5 separate regions of the Homo sapiens genome follow, and regions 1, 2, 4 and 5 are each linked to region 3. Evidence: promoter capture Hi-C in human tissues and cell types (Jung and others, 2019). All regions are on one chromosome and are shown on one strand. Each heading gives the region's core, a stretch centred on a gene start or on the middle of the fragment in contact. The rest is flanking DNA. Distances are from core to core; before and after follow the strand shown.

What was found. Contacts are between HindIII fragments. The study calls those that stand out against the background at their distance.
Region 1: a fragment that was not itself captured here is called in contact with the fragment with the promoter of TMEM44 in region 3 in 3 of the 25 tissues and cell types used here (pancreas, spleen and thymus).
Region 2: a contact is called between a fragment that was not itself captured here and the fragment with the promoter of TMEM44 in region 3, in 2 of the 25 tissues and cell types used here (dorsolateral prefrontal cortex and spleen).
Region 4: a fragment that was not itself captured here is called in contact with the fragment with the promoter of TMEM44 in region 3 in 1 of the 25 tissues and cell types used here (pancreas).
Region 5: a fragment that was not itself captured here is called in contact with the fragment with the promoter of TMEM44 in region 3 in 1 of the 25 tissues and cell types used here (dorsolateral prefrontal cortex).

Annotation. Positions count from the first base shown.
Region 1 is chr3:194,980,630-194,984,477 of GRCh38, reverse strand. LOC105374294 (a long non-coding RNA gene) reads left to right here. Exons shown (of 4, transcript XR_924873.2): 4 at 1,693-2,895. Among named protein-coding and RNA genes, the nearest start is that of XXYLT1-AS1, 110 kb to the left of the region's middle. The HindIII fragment of the contact is 5,353 bases long and covers 1-3,848 here.
Region 2 is chr3:195,111,580-195,115,741 of GRCh38, reverse strand. The region is part of intron 3 of XXYLT1 (xyloside xylosyltransferase 1); the gene reads left to right. Among named protein-coding and RNA genes, the nearest start is that of XXYLT1-AS1, 19 kb to the right of the region's middle. The HindIII fragment of the contact is 3,156 bases long and covers 1-3,116 here.
Region 3 is chr3:194,631,963-194,635,868 of GRCh38, reverse strand. It overlaps TMEM44 (transmembrane protein 44), which reads left to right and starts at 2,450. Exons shown (of 10, transcript NM_001011655.3): 1 at 2,450-2,790. The coding sequence starts at 2,654. It overlaps TMEM44-AS2 (TMEM44 antisense RNA 2), which reads right to left and starts at 2,941. Exons shown (of 2, transcript NR_186047.1): 1 at 2,702-2,941. RefSeq lists a silencer at 2,252-2,681. The HindIII fragment of the contact is 16,299 bases long and covers 1-3,906 here.
Region 4 is chr3:195,071,551-195,075,850 of GRCh38, reverse strand. All of the region lies in intron 3 of XXYLT1 (xyloside xylosyltransferase 1), which reads left to right. Among named protein-coding and RNA genes, the nearest start is that of XXYLT1-AS1, 21 kb to the left of the region's middle. RefSeq lists an enhancer at 2,247-2,747. The HindIII fragment of the contact is 7,435 bases long and covers 1-4,300 here.
Region 5 is chr3:195,134,645-195,138,988 of GRCh38, reverse strand. All of the region lies in intron 3 of XXYLT1 (xyloside xylosyltransferase 1), which reads left to right. Among named protein-coding and RNA genes, the nearest start is that of MIR3137, 2.2 kb to the right of the region's middle. The HindIII fragment of the contact is 6,136 bases long and covers 1-4,344 here.

The DNA.
Region 1 (3,848 bases), core at 467-2,966, 350 kb before region 3:
TGTGATTTTAACACAACACATCATAATTATGCTTTGAAAGGCAGTCAGTATTAGCAAGGCAGATATCTGTTTAGCTGGAAAAAAAGGAAAGATCCAGGTCAGCTGGGACTTGCTGAGCAGAGCTCATGGACAGCTGCAGGCGAGGCAGGGGGAGCAAAGGGGTAGAGAAGGCGAGGGAGGACAGGGGCTCTGCAACAACCTGAAGGAAGCAGGAGACCAGGTGGGCCCCATGCCCTGGGCTCCTGTGAATTCCAGAGCAGCTGAGCATTTAGACAGGAATCCTCAGGAGAAGGCTGGAGCCCCCCAGCCTCCAGCTGCATCAGGGCAGGACAGCAGGGCGACAGGCCCAGTGGGGTAAGGGACACAAAAGTGTTTATGGACCATGTGGGAATGGGATTAGGCCAGTGCTCAGTAAAGTAGAGGCTCTGATGAGATTTTATGGGCCATATCAAAGGTTTTTGTATAAGTTTTTCTCCCTCTTCCATCTCAAGTTCTTTCATGGCAGGTACTGGGTCTGAGTTTTCTCTGATGGTGCCCAGAGAGTATGTTGGGTGTATCTGGGGACCACACTCAAGTCTGGGTGAGTGTTTGGAGGGGCTTCTGGCAGCGTGGCCTATGCTACTGGAGAGCCATGGGTCTGTAAGCTCAGACAATGGTGTGAGCAGTGGCAGATGTGACATTTCCCAGCCAGGAGCCCTGGCAGGCAGGCAGAGGGGATCAAAGCACAGGGACCTCATTTTCAGCCAGAGAAGGGATTAATGAAGAGCCCAGTGTCCCAAAGGGAGGCTAATTGGGTTCCGAAGAGTGGTAAGTGTTCCTGGGCTCACTTGGCATGGTCCTACCCTCTGAGCCCTGTTTCCTCAAGAATTTAATTTAATGTCCCTTTGTTGAACGCAGCTGTTGGGGGAGGAGTGATTTGGGCTGTTTGGGCTGTTTTGTTTTCCTCCCTCTTTCTTTTCCATCTTTCCCTCCTTTCTTCTCTTGTGGGAAGATGCCAGTGCTTGGTGAACTGGCTGGTTGGGGTGTCCAGACCAACCTTCTCTGAGCAGGCCTTGAGCACAGAAAGCCCTGGGCTCCCTCCGTCTGCTCAGCAGCCCAGCCATCTGCCTTGCTCAGTCCCTGTGGAGACGTTTGCTGGGGCTGCCTTTCCTTGGAACTGGTGGGTGGGGTCTGGCAGGTGGAGAGATACCAGAGCCCAGGCTTCTAATGCTTTTTTTCTGGGATCCTGACATACAGCAGAGACTGGACATACCTCCCCTTCTTCCCTGCTTGATAACCATCCCTGCTGGGCCTCCCAACTTGAAAGGTGGGACCACAGTACTTGTAGAGAAGGACAGCTCTGGAGTTGGCCTGCCTGTGTCTGAATCCTGACTCTGTGTCACCCTGGGCAAGTCATTTAACTTCTTCAAACCTCAGTTTTTGCTCCTGTGAATTAACTAACCCAAAGAGATATTGTGAGTCTTACGTGAGACAACCAGGGTGAAAGTTCAGCACAGGGCCTGGGATATGGTAAGCATGGTGTAAGGATTATAAGCTTTTATTAGTAGGAGAGCATGTTGGTTTCCCATGGCTGTTTTAACGAATTACCATAAACTTATTCCCTCCCAGTTCTGGAGCTCAGAAGTTCAAAATCATAGACAGCCATGCTCCTCTGAAAGCTTTAGGGGATAATTTGTTTCTTGTTTCTTCCAGTTTCTGGTGGCTGCTGGCATTCCTTGGTTTGTGGCCTCATCACTCCAATCTTCAAGGCCAGCATCTTTGAATTTCTCCCTGATCCATCGTCACATGGCCTTCTCATCTGTGTGTGTGGTCAAATCTCCCTCTGCCTCACTCTGATAAGGATAAATGTGTGTGCCTTTAGGGCGTATCCAGATAACCCTCCGTCCCAAGATCCTTAATTTACTCTCATCTGCAAAGACCCCTTTGTTTTGCCATACAATGTAAAATTCACAGGTCACATGGATTAGAATACTGATTTTTTGTGGGGGCAGGAGTCATTTTTCAGCCTACCAAAGATGGAGCAAAGAATTGGAGTGAGGGGGAGACGCTTGAGTGCCTCATCGTCTTAGGACAGGCTCTCTAGTAGCAGACCGTGGGATGAGGTTCACTGTGCACACAGTTTATCAGGGAAGCGCTCCCAGGAGAAACTGGCAAGACAATGGGAGATGCAGGTCAGAGAAGGGGAAGAAACTCAGTAGGGTGAGATTTGAAGTCCCAGCCTGCTCTGGTTTGAATGTGCCCCCTAAAAGTTCATGTGTTACAAACTTCATTGCCAATGTAACAGTATTAAGACGTGGGGCCTTTAAGAGATCCTTGGATCACAAGAGTGGAGCCCTCCTGCATGGATTACTGCCATTATCATGGGAGTGAATTAGTTCTCTAGGGAGGAAGTTACTTCTCACGAGAGTGGGTTGTTATAAAATGAGCTCAGCTCACTTTTGCAGTCTTTTTCATATGTGCTTGCTTGCTCTCTCTCTGTATAATGCCTTCCCCAATGTTATGATGAGCAAGAAAACCCTCACCAGGTGCTGATGCCATGCCCTTGGACTTCCCAGCCTCCAAGACCATGAGCCAAATAACCTTTTGGTCTTTATAAATTACCCAGTATCAGTCATTCTATTAAAGCAACAGAAAATGGTCTAAAACACAGCATCATATTAATCCCACAGAGAGCTTTAAAAAAGGAAATTCACTGATGAAATTGAATCTCACTTTTATCACTACCCATTCCTATTTCCCTCCTTTCCTTTCCAGAGGAAGTTATTGTCATAAATTTGGTATGTGCCTTCTTGTCCACTTAAAAAATGCTTATAATATATATTTGTGTCCCTAATCATGTAAAGTATTATCTTCCACATTTAAAAAATTTATGTAATAAATTTATGTAATAAATAATCTTTCTCTCTCTCTATATATATGTCACTTTGATTTTTTCACTCATTACGGGGCTTAGAAGATCTGTTCATGTCAAGATACGCAGATATAGTTCATTGCTTTTCACTGCTGCTAATTAATATGTACCACTTTTACTTTAGATGAAAATTTAGGTTGTTTAAAAATGTTTTCATTATTACAAGGCTGAGGTGTTTTCTTACCCTCATAGAAGAGTTTCTCTAGGGTTGATGCCTTGGGAATTTTTTCGGTCATAAAATGTGTGCATTTTTCAATGTTAATAATAACTGCAAAGCTGTTCCCCAAATGGCTGTGCTAATTTATCCCCCACTAGCAGTGTTTCTGAAAGTTCCCATTTTCCTCATATTTTCACAAAGATTAGTATTTTCAGACTTTTAATTTTTTTCTAAAATATGGAGATTGACATGATATGAGAAGATTTCAACTTGTTTTCTGTGAGTGCTTCCATGAGTTGAGCGTCTTTTCATGTATTCATGACCACTTGGATTTCCTCTTCTGTGAATTACCCCTTTAAATCTCTTACCCTCTTTCTATTGGGTTGAGCGCCTTTTTCTTATTGAGTTGTAGAAGGTCTTTATATATTCTGAAGACTACCTTTTTGGTATTTCATATTGTAAACAACTTCTAATCTATCATTTTTTGTCATAAAGCATTTTGATTTTGATATAGACAAATCTATGAATTTTTAAACGGTTTGTTCTCTTATATCTTGAAAGCTTTTTATTACCTGATGTCATAAAGATTTTTTTTTAGTAGCTTAAAAGTTATATTTTTAATATATAGGCTTTAGCCAAACTGGAATTTATTTTTGTGCATGCTATGAGATAGGAACCTGATTTTATTCTTTTACATGGAAAGCCATTGTCCCAACACCAAGTATATCTATATATATGTAGTCTCTAAGCTCTCTGATCTATTAATTTGGTCTATTTTTT
Region 2 (4,162 bases), core at 289-2,788, 480 kb before region 3:
CCACCTCGGACGTGAACACCTCAGCTCAAAGGTGAGAGCGCACACGGTGTGCTGCCGGAGCCAGACGAGGGGGTTACTGCTCCGCACCAGATGAAGGGAGTCGTCCTGTAAATAGCTGTGCTTTCCAAACCACTTCCACTGTGGCTCCTGAGGCCTTCACGCGTGCTCGGTTTGCCAGGCAGGGTTTATCAACCAGGGATCGCGTAGGAAGCAGAAACCACTCCAGGTGGTGTAAGCAGAAGGAGTTTCTTGTTGGAATTAGGTGCTTACAACATTGTTGGAGGGGCTCAAGGGGCAGGTTTCCGGCTGGGCCTTTTGAAGGACTCCTGGCTAGTTCAGAAGCAGCTGTTGCCAGCCCACAGCCATTCCTGGACTCTCTAGGAGGCTGAAGGATGAACAGTCTAAGTTGAGGTCTGAGGATTATGGAGTTTGGACAGAAATCACCACCACTGCCCTGCTTTTCTGGTACTCAGGAAGCGGCAGCACGACCTGGGTTCAAGGTGACTGGGACCGTCTAACCAGCAGTGACAGCCAGAAGCCACATTCTCACCGGGCACGTCTCATGTGAGCACACTAGTTCCCGAGTCGCAGCACCTGATTCACGTCCCGAGCTCTCGCCGTTTGGGCATCTGGGAAGCTTAGTTTCCCTCGTTCCAACCTCTCAATAGGAGGAGGATCAACGGGAGGTTTGGGAGGAGCCAACTGTGCAACCTCAGCTAGGTACGATTTTGACGAGTGGAACGGGTGGGGCCTGCGGCATTCACACTCCCAAGCTCAGCCTCCACCCAGGAGTGACTGCGCCCAGGCCGACCCCGGTGTCTTCCCACACTTGGCGTTAGCACCTTCTGCAGGTGGCAGCCTCCTTGCACCGGCAGGGAGACCACTGAGCGGCTTCACTCCTCCCTGGTTTTCTAAGCCTGTAAGACTGCTACCTTCCTGCGTGCTCCAAAAGCGATTGCTTTTTCACTTAGTTTCGTCTGATTGACGAAAGCTTGTCACAAGCTTGACAGAGGTTCAGGGAATGTGGGCAAAGCCGCGCTGCCTTCTACATCAAGTGCTGTTCATTTGGGTCATTAGGATTTCATGTCTGGTCCTGGTCTTCGTAATTAAACGTGTAAAGAGATGTCCTCCCAGCACTGTCATGAGCAGGAACTTTTTAGTAGAAATGTACTTGTTGATGACATGGTTGTATAATGTGATTGTGGGTGTAGGGGGACAGATGTGTTTCAAGTGCTAGAGAAATGACAATGATTTGGGTCTCATGGGACCCAGGCACAGGACCGTACACAGAGCAGGTGCTCAAAATGGCTTATTTAGTACATGGAGTGAAATGAAAAGAAGCTCAACGCAGGTGGAAGGTGATGCTCCGTGTCTCCCGGCTCTCCAGGCAGTAGTCATTCCTTGGCCCCTCAGATCCTCCATTTTGGGTGCAATGGTGTGGCTGTACTTTGTGGAGAAACAAATTTGGGCAGCTGAGTTCAGGGCTTCACGTGGAGGAGCGAGAAGGGGGCCACCCAATGCAGCTTTCCCTGGAAGCGTGTGGACTGGGGCACAGTTGTTGCAGGATGATTGGCTGCCACCATAAGTGGGCAAAATCATGGGCAGATCATCCTGCTTCCTTAATTGAATCTTGGAATGCATTCAGAATCTTCAACCCAGGGGTCTGGCACTCAAGGCGTTTGTGACCTGGCACTGACTCAGTACGCTCTAGCCAAATTGGGCACTCATGGCTCCCAGATGCTGTGCCAAGCTTTCACCTGCTTATCTTTGCTTGCACTGTTCCTGCCACCTGGAGGGACTTCTCTTCACCCATCTCTACCTTGAGAAATCCTCTCTGTCATTCATGGCCAACTCAGACACCCCTTCTTCATAGCATTCTTTGCCCGCCGGCCTCAGGAGCACCCTCTGGCACTATCAGAATGCCCAGGGCTCCTTTCCACCCTTTTCTCCTGGCCACAACCCTTTCTCCTGGCCACACCCCTTTCCGCCTCTTTGCCTGGTCCTGTGGGTGCTGTGCAGGCTCCCTCAGCCAAGCTCGGCATTCCCAGGCCTGGCTCCGAGTAGGTGTTTGTGGAATGAATGGCTAAAAAGTAAAGCAAAAAGCTCATGAAACAGAGGGGAAATCCAAAACTGATTAAAGAGAAAAAGGATTCTAACAAAAAAGACCGTGAGTGCTGGGTTCACACTGCCTGGGTTCAGGTCCTGGCTCCACTATTTAATAGCCCTGTGACCTTGGACAAACCAGTAAACCGCTTTGTGCCTCAGTTTCCCCCTATGTTAAGGATAAGCGTACTACCTAATCAGGGATGTTCTGAGAATTAAGATTCTTGAAAACATGTCAGCTTCTTGGAACGGTGCCTGCCTCGTAGTAAGTGTTAATATACGTTAGTGCACCACTCCCCTCCCAAGCTTTCCCAACTCCCTGGCTTGTCGAAGATAGTGTCAGAAACTGGCGTTTTTCCGAGCTCCCGCCAGATGTTCACCTCCGTTTCCATCCTGCAGTTGCGGCGAAATCAGTGGGAGATGTTTTCCTGAGGCGGCTCCATCCTTACTGTGGAAGGGAGAAAAGACGGGAAGGTCCACGGACCAAGGAGTGGCTCTTGCCAGGCTCTGTGCGAGGGCTCCTCATATGAAATGCTGTTTAATCTTCACACAGCCTCTGGGTATGGATTAATGTTCCTATCTGGGAGGAAGCTGAAGCTCAAAGAAGAGCAACAGCTTGCCTGGGATGGCACGGCGAGTGAGGGGCATGGCTGCAGTTGAAACCCAGATTGGATTTTGAAACCCATGTTCTCTTGACTGCTTCATCCAGCTGTTCCCACCACCTGGGGCTGGAGGCTGGGGGCTGCGTGTATGTGCGCACATGTGTGCATGCATGTGTGTGCATGCGTGTGGGTGTGTGTGCGTGTGTGCGCTGCTTCAGCTGTTCCCACCACCTGGGGCTGGGAGCTGCGTGTGTGCATGGGTGTGTGTGTGTGCATGCGCGCACTGCTTCAGCTGTTCCTACCACCCGGGGCTGGGAGCTGCGTGTGTGCATACGTGTGTGTGTGCACTGCTTCATCCAACTATTCCCACCACCCGGGGCTGGGAGCTGCGTGTGTGCATGGGGGTGTGTGTGTGCACATGTGTGCGTGTGTGTGCATGCGTGTGTGTGTGTGCGTGCGTGTGTGTGCACTGCTTCATCTAGCTGTTCCCACCTGGGGCTGGGGGCTCTGTGTGTGTGTGTGGGTGTGTGTGGGTGTGTGCATGTGTCCATGCGTGTGTGCATGTGTGTGGGTGTGCACATGCGTGTGGGTGTGCGTGCGTGTGTGTGCATGTGTGTGTGTGCGCGCACGTGCGCACGTGCAGTCCTTGCTGGGGTGGGTGGGCTCGATGGCCCTGCCCCGAGTTGCCTCAGAACTGAGCAGAGTGGATCAGTGTGGACAGATCTTCTGGGGCTTGCGAACCCCAAAGCATCAGCGAAACCCGTGTTTGCCCAGTGTTCAGCCATGGCAGCCCACAGAACCTGACCCGGATTCCAGTAGGCTTTTGCCCAGGTGTCGCTGAGATGTCAGCAAGCCTCAGTTTCCTAGTTCATGGGCCCTCCTGACGGCTAGAAATGGTCTCGTGGGTTTTAAGAATAATTATAACTATCTTGTCCTCACTTAAGCTGATTTGGTATATACCAATGTACTGATTGATATTAGCACCCGTCTCATTTGCACATTTCTGCAGCGATAGTAATGCCAAGTAAACTGTAGAAGAAATGAGTTCCTGAGGCATTTACAGGCAATCAGGATGTTCACTTTGCATGTAGAGCAGGCACGCGCTATTTGAATCAAGCTTCCACGATTGGGGCGAGCAAATGATCTTGTATTTACATATTTTTCCGAAGGCCACTTTACCTCAATTTTAAATCTTTAAGTTGAGTTCCTATTTTTGAAAATTCTGTTTTGTTGTAACTGAGGTAATCCAGCCTCAAGGCCCTGTGAAGACAGCTTATGTTAGAAGTCTGTCTGTTAATCTTACCACGTTGAAGACAGTGGAATTCTGTGAGAAAAGATAGGCTTCACGAGTCAGTACCAGTGGTAGATGGGTGGGCCAGTGATAGTATAATACTCGTTCAGCTTGGTCACAATCAGCGTGTCCTTTACCTGCTGCTTACAGACGTTCACAGTGACAG
Region 3 (3,906 bases), core at 1,201-3,700:
CCTGACCTCAAGTGATCCACCCGCCTCAGCCTCCCAAAGTGCTGTGATTACAGGCGTGAGCTACCGCTTCCAGTACTTTTAATAGCCAAAACCACAATTACTTTTGCACCAATCTAATACCATCAAATTAGTGATTAGATTTCATTTCTCCTGAGAGGTTATAACTTTGTTTTGTTTTGAGAGACCGGGGTCTCCCTATGTTGTCTAGGCTGGTCTCCAACTCCTGGGCTCCACTGATCCTCCCACCTTGGCCTCCCAGAGTGCTGGGATTACAGGCATGAGCCACCTTACCAAGCCAAATCATAACTTTGAAAACACAGTGAACCACTAAAATAGTGTAGCCACTTTGGAAAATAGTCTGGCAATTCCTCAAAACATTAAACACAGTTACCACAGATCCCAGCAAGGACACTCCTAGGTATATACCCAAGAGAGCATGAAACCTGTGTCCACACAAAAACTTGTGCACAAATGTTCAGAGCAGCATTATTCATAATAGCCCAAAGGTGAAAGCAATCCAAACATCCCACTAATGAGTGGATAAACGAAATGTGGTATAAAAATACCCATACCATGTATTATGATGAGCCATAAACAGGAATGAAGTACTGATAACACGCAGCAACATGAATGAACCTTGAAAACATGCTAAGTGAAAGTCACAGAAAGGTCATATAGTGGATGATTCCATTGATGTGGAATGTCCAAAATGGGCAAATCCATAGAGACAGAAGGTAGATTTGCGATTCCTGGGCTGCGAGTGTTGAGGGGAGTGGACAGTAACTGCCAGTGGGCCGGGTTCTTTTCAGATGGGGGTGATGAAAATGTTCTAAAAGTAGACAGTGATGTTGGTTGCACAACGCTATGGATACACTAAAAACTGCTGAATTGTACATTTTATTTTTTGTTTTGTTTTGAGATGGAGTCTTGCTCTGTCGCCCAGGCTGGAGTGCAGTGGCGCCATCTCAGCTCACAGCAATCTCCGCCTCCCAGGTTCAAGCAGTTCTCCTGCCTCAGTCTCCCGAGTAGCTGGGATTACAGGCGCCTGCCATCATGCCTGGCTAATTTTTGTGTTTTTAGTAGAGATGGGGTTTCACCATGTTGGCCAGGGTGGTCTCAAACTCCTGACCTCAAGTGATCCACCTGCCTCGGCCTCCCAAAGTGCTGGGATTACAGGCGCGCACCACCATGCCCGGCTAATTTTTGTATTTTTAGTAGAGACAGTGTTTCACCATGTTGGCCAGGCCGGTCTTGAGCTCCTGACCTCAAGTGATCCGCCTGCCTCAGCCTCCCAAAGTGCAGGGACTACAGTTGTGAGCCACCGTGCCTGGCCAGAATTGTACATTTTAAAAGTACTATGTAGGCTGGATGTGGTGGCTCACACCTGTAATCCCAGCACTTTAAGAGGCTGAGGAGGGCAGATCACGAGGTCAGGAGTTTAAGACCAGCCTGGCCAACATGGTGAAACACCGTCTCTACTAAAAATACAAAAATTACTCGGGTGTGGTGGCGGGCACCTGTAGTCCCAGCTACTTGGGAGGCGGAGGCAGGAGAATTGCTTGAACCTGGGAGGCGGAGGCTGCAGGGAGCTGAGATCGCACCATTGCATTCCAGCCTGGGCAACAGAGTGAGACTCTGTCTCAAAAAAAAAAAAAAAAAAAAAGACTATGCTTATGGCATATAAATAATATCTAAATAAAGCTGTAGTTTTTGAAAATTAAAAAAGATTTTTTTTCTTTTTTTCAATCCTGCTCCTTCTATAGAAATATTGTTTTCAAGTCATGTCTTGCTTTAAACAAACCTACTAAAATCAATAAGGAGATTTAAAAATTACAATAATAGTTTACTCTCAAGAAAAACAGCCCTGTGTACTTGAACTGTGCGGTGTGTGGCTGGACAGGAGGCGGCCGGTTGCAGAGATAACCAGCTCTTGGCTGCGGGGCCGTGGGCTAGGATGACATCCAGGAGCAGGGCTTGGGCGACTGCCTGGGGGCGGAGGGTGCCGTTGGCAGCTTCAGAAAGGAGAGTGAGAGGCAGATGTGGGGGTATTTGTTCTCCGGCACGTTTGTTTCCTCCTTCCTGGTCTTGCACCCCACCCTTTTTACTGCGCCCTGTCGGCGATCAGGACCACGCCCCCTTCACCTCGGGATCCCAGCACCCATGCGCTTCAGCAGCGCAACTAATTGCTGTTGGCTCAGGAAATGTGGACAATACGCAGGAAGGGACGCCGTGCCTTACAGCGACCGGCAGGGACTCGGCCGTCCGCGAGCCCAGCCGCCCGCCCCGCTCCGGCCAGGATGTTGGAGGTGGGTGACCGCGAAGAGGTCGGCGGGGGGCGGGGGCCGCAGTCTTTGTGCGCGCGCAGCTCCCGGCTCCCGCCGCTGGGGGGCGGCCTCCGCCCTGCCGACCCCCGACAATAGCGCGAGGGGTGGGGAGCGCGCGGTCCCGGAAACTTTTCCCCGGCGCCTTCGCCGCCGCCGCCCGCGCCCGGGAGCGCGCCCTTCTCTGCCCGCGGTCGGTGCGCTCGGCCGGAGGCGCCGCGGCGGAACGGAACCCAGAGAAGGGCACGCGGGGCGGCGGCGCTCGGGGCTTGCCCGCGGCGAGGGAGGCTGCGCCCAGGTCCCCGGCCCCGCGCCGCGCGCCCAGCCGCGCCATGGGGGAGGCGCCCAGCCCCGCGCCCGCGCTCTGGGACTGGGACTACCTGGACCGCTGCTTCGCCCGCCACCGCGTCTGCATCTCCTTCGGCCTGTGGATCTGCGCCTCCTCCTGCTGGATCGCCGCCCACGCGCTGTAATGGGGCCACGGGTCGGGGGGCTGTCGGGCGGGGAAACGGGCGCCAATCCCCTGCTGCTCCCTCTCGGAAACCTAGAGGAGGGGGCGGAAAGGGGGATGAAGGAGATGGCTCAGTAATAGGATCCAATGGAACATTGCTCTGTAGACTGAAGTGGGATCTTCTTTCCGGATCCCACGCACAGGGAAGCTGGGCTGTGAGCCAAAGGGAGGAGGCTGGGTGGTGCAGCGGATGGGGCCCCGAGGACACCGCGAGCCCTGGGTGCTATTGTCAGCCCTTCGCCATTGACTCGCAGTGTGACCTGGGCAAGCTCCAGAACCTCTCTGGGCCTCCTATGACCGGAGATAATACCTCATAGGATGATGGGAGGATTCGATGAATCAGTACCGTTAAAGCACTTAGTAAATGCTCATTAAACATCATTTGTATTGCTCCAGCTAGGCCACCAACTCTTAGGACCTTGGCAAGTCCCTTGATGTTTCTGGCCTCAGTTTACCCAAAGTCCTCTTAGGTGGGAAGGGAGGTAGTGATATGATCCAGCTGGCCTGTCTTTGCCCTGGTCTGTCCAGCACCTGGACTGGTTTGTCCAGATGCCCACGGTAGCCTAAGTTCTAAGAGTGAATCTCCAGGTCCTCAGCCGCTCTGTCCTAGGCATGGAAATCCACTAGCAGTGCTCAGGATGGTGCCGCCCAAGCATTCCCTGGCAGGGGAGAAAGGACCAGCACCCCTGGGAGAGGTTAGAACTGTCTCCCTGTAGGCACTCAGTGGATATTCTCCTAAGGCGTTTGGTCGTATTGCAGAGATTCTGCAGCCCCACTACCCAGTACTGCAATACAAATAAAAAGACGCCTAGAACATTTACTGTAGGCCCAGTGTTGCATTCATTAACTCATTCAATGCCTGCCACTCACAATATCAGCACCAGGAGGTAGGTGCTGTTACCCCCACTTTCTGTAGGGAACCCTGAGGTTCTGAGAGGTTAAATAACTTGTCTGAGTGAAAGGAAAGAACCAAAACCCCAGATCCTATTGGAAAGGGGCAGGCTGGTAAGAGAGATTAAACTGTTCAGATCAGAGGCTGGAAACTAACAAGGCGCTGGACACGCATTATCCTTT
Region 4 (4,300 bases), core at 461-2,960, 440 kb before region 3:
CTTGCCCCTTCCAAGTTCTGGGGATGTTGTGGTTTGGCAACTCAGTTGCTGGCCTTCAAAGAGGGCTGGGGTTTGAAAACAAGCACATGTTTCTTAGGAGGTCCCACAGACGAGGGTGAGCACATGCCTGCCACCTGCTTAGTGTCCCTCCTATTTCCCCAGGCAAGTCCTGCCAGCCACTCGGGCACCCAGCTCTCCTCCAAGTGCTAGTGTGGTGAGCTTGGAGGACGTGGGCCCTGCTGGAGGGGAAAGCACAGCCTCTGCGCCTCCTGGCAGGCTGGCTTTGTCTGAGCGGTGCTGCCTCGCCTCACCACAGGGCTTGTTTTGGGTAGGTGGGAGGCAGCAGTTCCCTTTTCTGGGCAGAGGCATTTGTGGAAAAGCATAAATTATTTGCCTGGAAATGTGGAGTTGCCCTTTCAGCAGCGTGACCCTGGACAGGCCAGTTTTTGAGCCTCAGCTTCCTCATCTGCACAATGGGTATATGAACCAGGAGTCCCTCAGTCTTCAGGCTCTGGTAGACCGTGGCTCTATGAGGAGCATCTCTTAGTCCTACTGCAAATGGCCTGTGTGACGTTAGGAACACTTATTCTTTTTTCTTGAGACGGAGTTTCACTCTTGTTGCCCAGGCTGGAGTGCAATGGTGCAATCTCAACTCACTGCAACCTCTGCCTCCCGGGTTCAAACGATTCTCCTGCCTCAGCCTCCTGAGTAGCTGGGATTACAGGCGCACGCCACCATGCCCGGCTAAGTTTTGTATTTTTAGTAGAGACGGGGTTTTGTCATGTTGGCCAGGCTGGTCTCGAACTCCTGACCTCAGGTGATCCGCCCACCTCGGCCTCCCAAAGTGCTGGGATTACAGGTGCGAGCCACCGCTCCCGGCCTGGGAACACTTCTTACCTTCTCTGTCCAGTAGAGCTGGAGACCTCAGCCTGCTTTAGGTCTTGTTATCAAGAGATCCTAATAAGGGTCAGTTCTGAGCTGGCAGTAAGGACTGCTCTAGGGACACGGGTACTTAGAGCTCCGTGGTGGTCCTACAACTCCAGGATGTCCATGTCTTCTCCAGTTTGATACCACAGGGCAGTGGTTCCCCTAAAGGACTGAAGAGCTCGAGACTGCCCCACAGAACTTCAGCCTTAGCTCCAGGTAGGACCAAGATGCAGGGTCATGGGTCTGAAATTAGCCGACATCACCCAGCCAGGGCGCAGGGTGTCCGGAGAGCCTCTGGGCCTGGGTGGACTTGAAATGTCCCTGGATCACCCCAGAGGACCTGGCTGGTGTGGATGAAGTGCTGGACAGCTGCTGAGTGTTGCTTTTCCCTCCTGGACTCTCATCTTGGATGACTGGAAAACAAGGTCCCTTCCACGCCAAACGAGCTCATTGGGCCAGGCACACATGCATGGGTATGAGGGAAATCACGTTTCCGGGTTCCAGGCCTCACTGACTGCACAGCCTCTGGGCCGGGTGCTTCCTCTGGGAGGAGGCCCAGATGCTGGCCCTTCAGTGACTGCTCTCAAGGCTGAAGGACGCCCCAGAGGTACGCCTTGCGAGGCCGTGTGCTGAATCTCAGACCTCAAATGGAGCCTTCTTTGCCTGACAGTCTACAGCCTGAACTTAGCCTGAGTCAGCACAGGCTTCTAGAACCTTCCTGCAGAGTCTTGTGCAGACAGCCCAGGCTCAGCATTTTCCCATCCTCGCTTCCTCCCTCTTGGAGGTGGTGGTGGTGAACTCGACCTGAGGAGCTGAGAAAGGGGCAGGAGAAAAAAAATCACGAAGAGTCGGAGGCAAAAGGGCCTGTGGTTTGGAGTGGTGGGAGGAGGAGGTGGGAGGGCTGATGGCCACGTGTGCCCTTTACTGGGGAGGACGAGCCCTTAGATTCTCCAGCCCGGCTCTCTCGAGAGCCCTTAGCAGAGCGGCCTTGGTTGTGATCATCAGGGAAAGACTTGAAGCGAGGAAGTAACTGTGCTTTTCCAAATGACTTCAGATGCCCTTTTCCATAAAGATGGGTTTTCTTCATGAAAACTAGTTGACTAGCTTTTAATAGTCTTTTTTATGATTATTAAGTTATATTCAATGTTAAAAATTTAGAAAATGCATTTATGACTGGAAGAATGTTCTTAAAGCTTCTTAATTTTTATTTTCCCAAAGGGCCTCCTTGACTTCTGAAAAGACCCAATATTTACCAGGGACTGTCTGCGTGGGGGCTTGTTTTCCAGTTGAAATTATTTCTAAAGGGGTGAAAAAGGCTTATCCCCTCTACCGTGGGTCTCCAGGTGACTATGGAAGACAGGAACAAGACTCTCCACAGGCCGGACGGTTAGACAATCCAGATAGTTAGAGCAAAGTGGCTGGGTTGTGGGCATGAGGGGGGGAGGGGTTAGTCAGAGAAACTTCTGGATGCTCCAGGACTCAGAACCAAATACCTGCATTTATACAAAGGTTTCCTGCAGCCTCTGCACGTGCCACAGACAGTGCCCCTGAATATACGTTGTCAGCCCCAGACTCCTGTGAAGAAGGGCAGGGGTCTGGGACACTCACTGCCCTGCCTCGTAGAGGCCTCAGGTCTGAGCCCTAAGTTCCTAATGTGCCAGCATCACCCGATCACCCTGTCCCCTGGCCTCGGCCGGTGCCACCCAAATTCAGAAATAAGATTGAAATCCAAGCGCACCTCCTTGGAACCCTAGCCCGTGGAATCCGAGGCAGTCAGATCAAAGGGACCTCAGAGATCAGAAGCCCTGCCTGCGACAAACTGAGGACCTCTGTTCCCTTTCTGCAAAAATGCAGGCAGTAATGTCCCTGGGCTGCCAGGGAGAGGGAGCCGAGGTGGAGAGTGTGAGAGGGCTTCGTGACCCACGCTGTGCTGTTGCGTTGGGGGGATTGGCGGTACTGCCTGTTTAGGCCATTTTGCCATGGGATAGAAGTTCCTCGCACGAGCTCCAATACTGTCCACACCCCGTACCATTCCTTCTACCCCGAGGCTGATGCGATTCCTCTACGAGAACCAGCAGACACAGAAGCCAGAGAAACCCACCATTCCCTTAGGTGACTGCTCTGTCTTTCTGGGTTCATTTGGGGATAGTAGGGACGCCTTGAACAAGGGCCCCCTGAACATCGCTTTGGGTGGGGACAGTCATTGTTCCTTTTCAGGCTGTGTTTCTGCTGCAGCACACACACGGGGCAGCTTGCACGCCCAATTTCCTGTCCCTCCTTTCCTTCTCAGGCTGATGCCCAGACCAGTCCTTTCTGACCATCATCAAATACCTCTTCATCCTGATTGAGTGGTGGTGCTGAGCATTGTCCCCAAAGAGCCACTTGTGCTGTGGCCTTCTCCTGGAGGCATATTCTGTCCTCTTCTCTCTGCCTGCGGCCCCCATCTCCTGAGCCCAGCGAGCTCAGTGCTAGTTCACTGTTTGCTCCTCCTTGCTGCAGACACAGAAGATTTGGGAGCGTTCCTGCCGAGGTTGGTAAGGATACCTGGAACAGTGGGCGGCCTCTTTGCTCCCCACTTGCTAGGAGTAAAGCCGTTTAAAAAGACACCTGAGCCTCTCCGGGTTCCTGCTCCTCACTCAACCCCACAGTAGATCTGGTGGGGAGGTTGAGGGCTCAGTGAATCTGCAGGTGCAGCATCGTGTCCTCAGTGTCCTGCCCCCTGCTTCCACCCGGTGTCGACAGCTGCACGGTCCACCCCACGCCTGCCTTTCCATCGTTCCTCATCAGCCCTGTGATCTTTCCTGTGGCCCTGCTGTGCTGGTGCCCTGTGAGGTCCTGTGGACACAAGAGACTGCACGGGCCACACCCCCAGCTGGGTGAGTCCTCTCCCTCCTGGGTACTCTGGACAGTAAAGAAAGATGGACACGTGGGCTCCGTGGAGCATGAGGTAGTCCAGGACCTCGGCGGCCACAGGTCCTGCCTCCCTGCTTCTCGTGCCCTCCCTCCCTTTGGGTCTCTGCTCCACCTCGGTAAACGCTTCGTTCCCACCCCTCGAAGGGTAAATCGAGCTCCTTGGTGGTAAAGCACCCACTGCCCCTAGTCAGAGGGTCCCTCCTCTCTGATGTCATGGTGCCCTGGTCTGCCTGGTAGAATTTTAGCTGCTTTATAACCTGGTCCTGAAATGAACCACTGGGAAGAAATAGGGTAAAATGAACACACAGCTGCCACACTGCATCCCAACCCTGTGTGACCCTATCACCGCAGACTTTTGTGGCAAGATGACAGCATCTCAGTTTGCTTGAGAAGCTTATTTTTGCCAAGGCTGTTACCACCAGGCAGGCACCAGAGCTCGGTTCCACTCACAGCAGAACAC
Region 5 (4,344 bases), core at 1,206-3,705, 500 kb before region 3:
AGGTGTCTTCCACACTTGGGGCCCTTGAGGATGCTCTCCCTCTGTCTAGGATGCTCTCTCTCTGACTAGGATGCTCTCTCTCTAGCCCATTTTTCTTTCTTTCTTTCTTTCTTTTTTTTTTTTTTTTTTTTCCTGAGGCAGAGTCTCACTTTGTTGCCCAGGCTGGACTGCAGTGGTGCAATTTTGGCTCACTGCAACCTCTGCCTCCCAGGTTCAAGCAATTCTCCTGCCTCAGCCTCCCAAGTAGCTGGGATTATAGGCACCCGCCACCATGCCTGGTTAATTTTTGTATTTTTAGTAGAGACGGGGTTTCACCATGCTGACCAGGCTGGTCTCAAACTCCTCACTTGTGACCCACCCGCCTCGGCCTCTCAAAGTGCTGGGATTACAGACATGAGCCACTGCACCTGGCCTCCAGCCCACTTTTCTATATGCCCTGCTCATTCTTCGAGGCACAGGTGAGATGCTGCCAGTTCCATAAAGCCTCTCTGAGGGCCGCCTGCACCCAGCTGTGGCCCTCACTCCTCAGGCTTGGAGGACAGACGCTTCCCATGAATGCGTGTCTCCCTCTGCAAGGCTATGACCTTATTAGTCAAGGACCAGGCCCTTGACTAGTAAAATATTGCCCAGCCTCTCCCCTCCTAGTCTCACAAATCCAGTCTAGGTAGGGCCTGGCACGGAAACCATTCCTCCAGCCAGTGTCCAGCTCTCTAATTACATCTTGTAGTTTTAAGGCTTGGTTATTATTTTCAAATGATGGCATGAAGCGGAGGGAACTGAAGTCCCTAGCAGGAATAAAACCAAATCACTTAAATTTCCTGGGAAGATAACTTGCTTCTCTTATTGCCATTGTGGAGATAGACTAAAATGTTGGCAAAGTTTCTGTCATTGAGGTTGACTTCTGGCTCCATCACTTACTGGCCAAATGACTTTGCGAAACATACTTAAACCTCTTAAAGCCTCTGTTTCCTCATCTGTGAAATGGGGAGACACCCAGCATATGGGCTATAAAACGAGAACCTCCCCTTCCATGGCATATTTGAGATCTGGGACTCACATGTTGCTATGCAGGCAGAAAGGGTGTGTCTGATAAAGCCTGCCTGCCAGTTCTGACCTGCAAGGGTTTATGACCCCTCTCTTCCTCCTGTTTGAGAATCACTGGCCTTCAGGACCTACTTAAGGGTACTCAGTAAGTAGCTGAGAATACAATGATGTCATGTACACATGACATAATACTAAGCACAGAGCAGCTCCATCAGAGCCCTCTCCCTTTCTCCGTGTCCGATACAAGCCATAACTTTCCTTGGTGCTGTGAAGCCAAAGCAGGCAGTATTTACAGAGCACGGAGAGGTTAAATGTAGAGTGCGCAGCAGCACCACCTCTGAAGCCAGAAGGAATTTGTCCTGGCCTAGAAAGGGAGTGTGCTGTGCAGGAAGGAATCACCTTCTGCCTTGGATGAAGCTGCCACTAGCCCCTTTCTCTTCACGGTCTTTGAGGTTACAGGCAGGTGCACACCCTTACCCCACCCTTTACCCATGTGGGAAAACATGGCTTTGTGCTCTTATCCATGGTGCAGAAGACCAGTGCCGAAAGCCCAATGGCAAAGGTGCAGAAACTGTGGCCAGATTGGAGCTGACCATGTGTGGTTTTGTAAATTGCCAGCTGAAAATAGCTTCCAACAATATGGGGTCAAGGATTTTTGAAGCACCATTATTAAAGCATCTCAAACTTCAGTTTGTAATGCCCCTGTCCCTACATGTCACCCCTTCCCCTGCCCCAGAAGAAAAGTGTCACACCCCACTTTGTTTCTCCCTCCACTTTTTTCTTCCCTTCAGTGCCCCTTCTCTGTCCTGGCCCCCACAGCAAGCTGATGAGGCACCTGGGCACTGTGGCAGGCTGTACCTGTATGATTGAAGGATCCCATTGGCTGCCTGCAGCTAAGCCTAAGCTTGTGGACAGCCTCCTAGGACTCGAACGAGTTGCAGTGTAATCATCTCCTTTTAGACACTCAATCCTGTGCTCATTTCTCAGTTTGAGAACCTGTTTTCTGGGTCCAGGCCTTTCTGATGAAGGTTTTTACCCTTCGACGCCACTTCTAAAAATGGTCTAAAACAAAGAATAAGTTATTTATCTCCTTGGACCTCTGCTTGTTTTTATTTATTTATTTATTTTTCTTGTCCAGGCTGAAGTCTCCATGCCCTTTGACAGACATGCAGTGGCCTTCCTGGCAGCTCCCTGCGTCCTGTGAGCTGCCCACTTCACCTTGTGTGCTTCTGGCCAGGGCTTATAGCAGTGCTGTCGTCCTGTGTGCTTGAACGGTGCTCAACTGTGTGCAAATTGGTTTTACATTCATATTTTAAATTTGCTCCTCATACTAATTCAGTGACATAAGAACGCAGGTGGTTTTATCCTTGTTTTGTAGAAGACACTAAGTTTTCGGTAAGTTGCGTTCACCCGGGGCCGCTTGGTCAGGACTAGAACCCAGGTTCCTGGGCTCAGTCCCCTGCCTGTCCCCTCTGCCCCTGAGGTCCTGGAGTGATGGTTCTTAGACCACATCCTCTATTTCCTGAATTAGGAAATAGCAGCTCTTGAGATGTTTTGCAGTCTCCTACCCAGCCACCTTATAGCCTGGGTCACTGAGTCCCATTTATTTTTTTGGGCCGGGGTGGGTTGCAGTATACAGGTGTATGTTAAAGATAGTCTTTTCATTCAAACCTATAGGAGCACTGAGGGTCCTACGTTGGCGTTTGAGCGCTGTCCGAGTGGATCTCTCATCTCTGTCCACAGTCACATTTGGCAAAGGCTGCATTTCTGCTCTGACGTGTGGGGCTCTCTCCAGCAAAATGATGTTATCGCTTTTCCTCCCAGCATGGTGACGGCCCTGGTGATGCTGTGATCAGTGTGTAATTAAAGGCAGCCGTGCATGGCTGCTCTCAGACTGTTGCTGAGGGCTTCTGATCATTGGGAAATCTCAGTGGTGTAGGTTTTAGTGGAAACTGTATCCAGCCAGGCCATTCATAGCTTCTACACCATAGAGGGAATGTTGGTCATTATCAGAGGGCATGGGTTTCACTTTTTTATGTCTGCAGCCTGAGTCGGGTGAACCTTTCTCTTACCCTAGGGAAGCACTAGAATAATGCCTGCCTGCCTACCTGACTGCCGTCCTGCCATCCCCGTCTGTCCATCCGTCCATCCATTTATCCATCTAAGGTGACAGCAAAGATTTACTGTAGAAAATCTCTTTCCCACAGTAAAAACCTCTTTTCTACAGTAGAAAGCTCTTCCAGTCTGAGTTTCCGTGTCTGCCCCTTCAGTCACAGGAACCCCATCCTGCTATGTACTGCAAAAGCAGCTGACTTCTGCCACAGTGTCATTCCCGTGGGTCTCAGCCTCCTGGTGCTGAGGCCTAGGGACTGTGTTCCGAGCCAGCCTGGGTTCTCCAGGGAAGTGTGGAGGTGCCCAGTGTGTCATCTGCCCTGGAAAATGGAAGCCACTTGTACTTCACTGTCCTCCCTCCCATCTCCCAACACCCCTTTCTCTTCACTGAAATGCTGAACAAACCTCCCTGCCCCTGCTGACTGACTCTTTTTTGATAAGGGGATGGAAAGATAGACTCAGGTGCCTCGGGTCCAGTCCCTTCCTATCCACCTTGGTTTCCTCCTGTGTAAAATGAGAAAGGTGAATTGAACTATCTTTCCTAACTCTAGCAGACCATTATAGATTCTGTTGATATCGTCGCAGAATTCTGGGAATGGGAGGGACACCGAGGGTATCTCGCCTCATGTTGGATTCCGCCTGCAGCATCCCAGATCTGTCAGTCTCAAGCGGATCACCTCCCACAGTGGGGACGTGGCCACTTTCAGAGCAGCCCATTATTTGATGATTGGATGAGTTTGTTAGAATGTCTTTCTGTCTATTAAACCTAAAACAATCTACGCCCCTGTGGTTTCTACCCATTGCCCCTGCCAAACATACTCTGATGCCAAACGAAAACATGTCCTCACACCTTTCCCCACAAAAGTCCTTCAGATACTCAGATTTACAGAAAAGCTCTTATTTACTGAGTCGTCTTTGGAAATAGCTGATAGCTCTTTGCACGTGCGCGCACGCGCGCACACGCACACACACACACACACACACACACACACACACACACACACACCCCTCTTCACGCCATGATGCCAGCCAGTGGGAAATACGGATGGAAAGCGTTTCCTCTCTGCCAGGCTTCCAGAGGCAGGGAGCAGGCCTGTCTGGAGGAACTCTATGCAGACATACATTTCTTACCGGGGAAGCCAGGGCCCCAGCTTGTAGCTTTCTCCGAGTCCCTTCCTGGCATCCTGA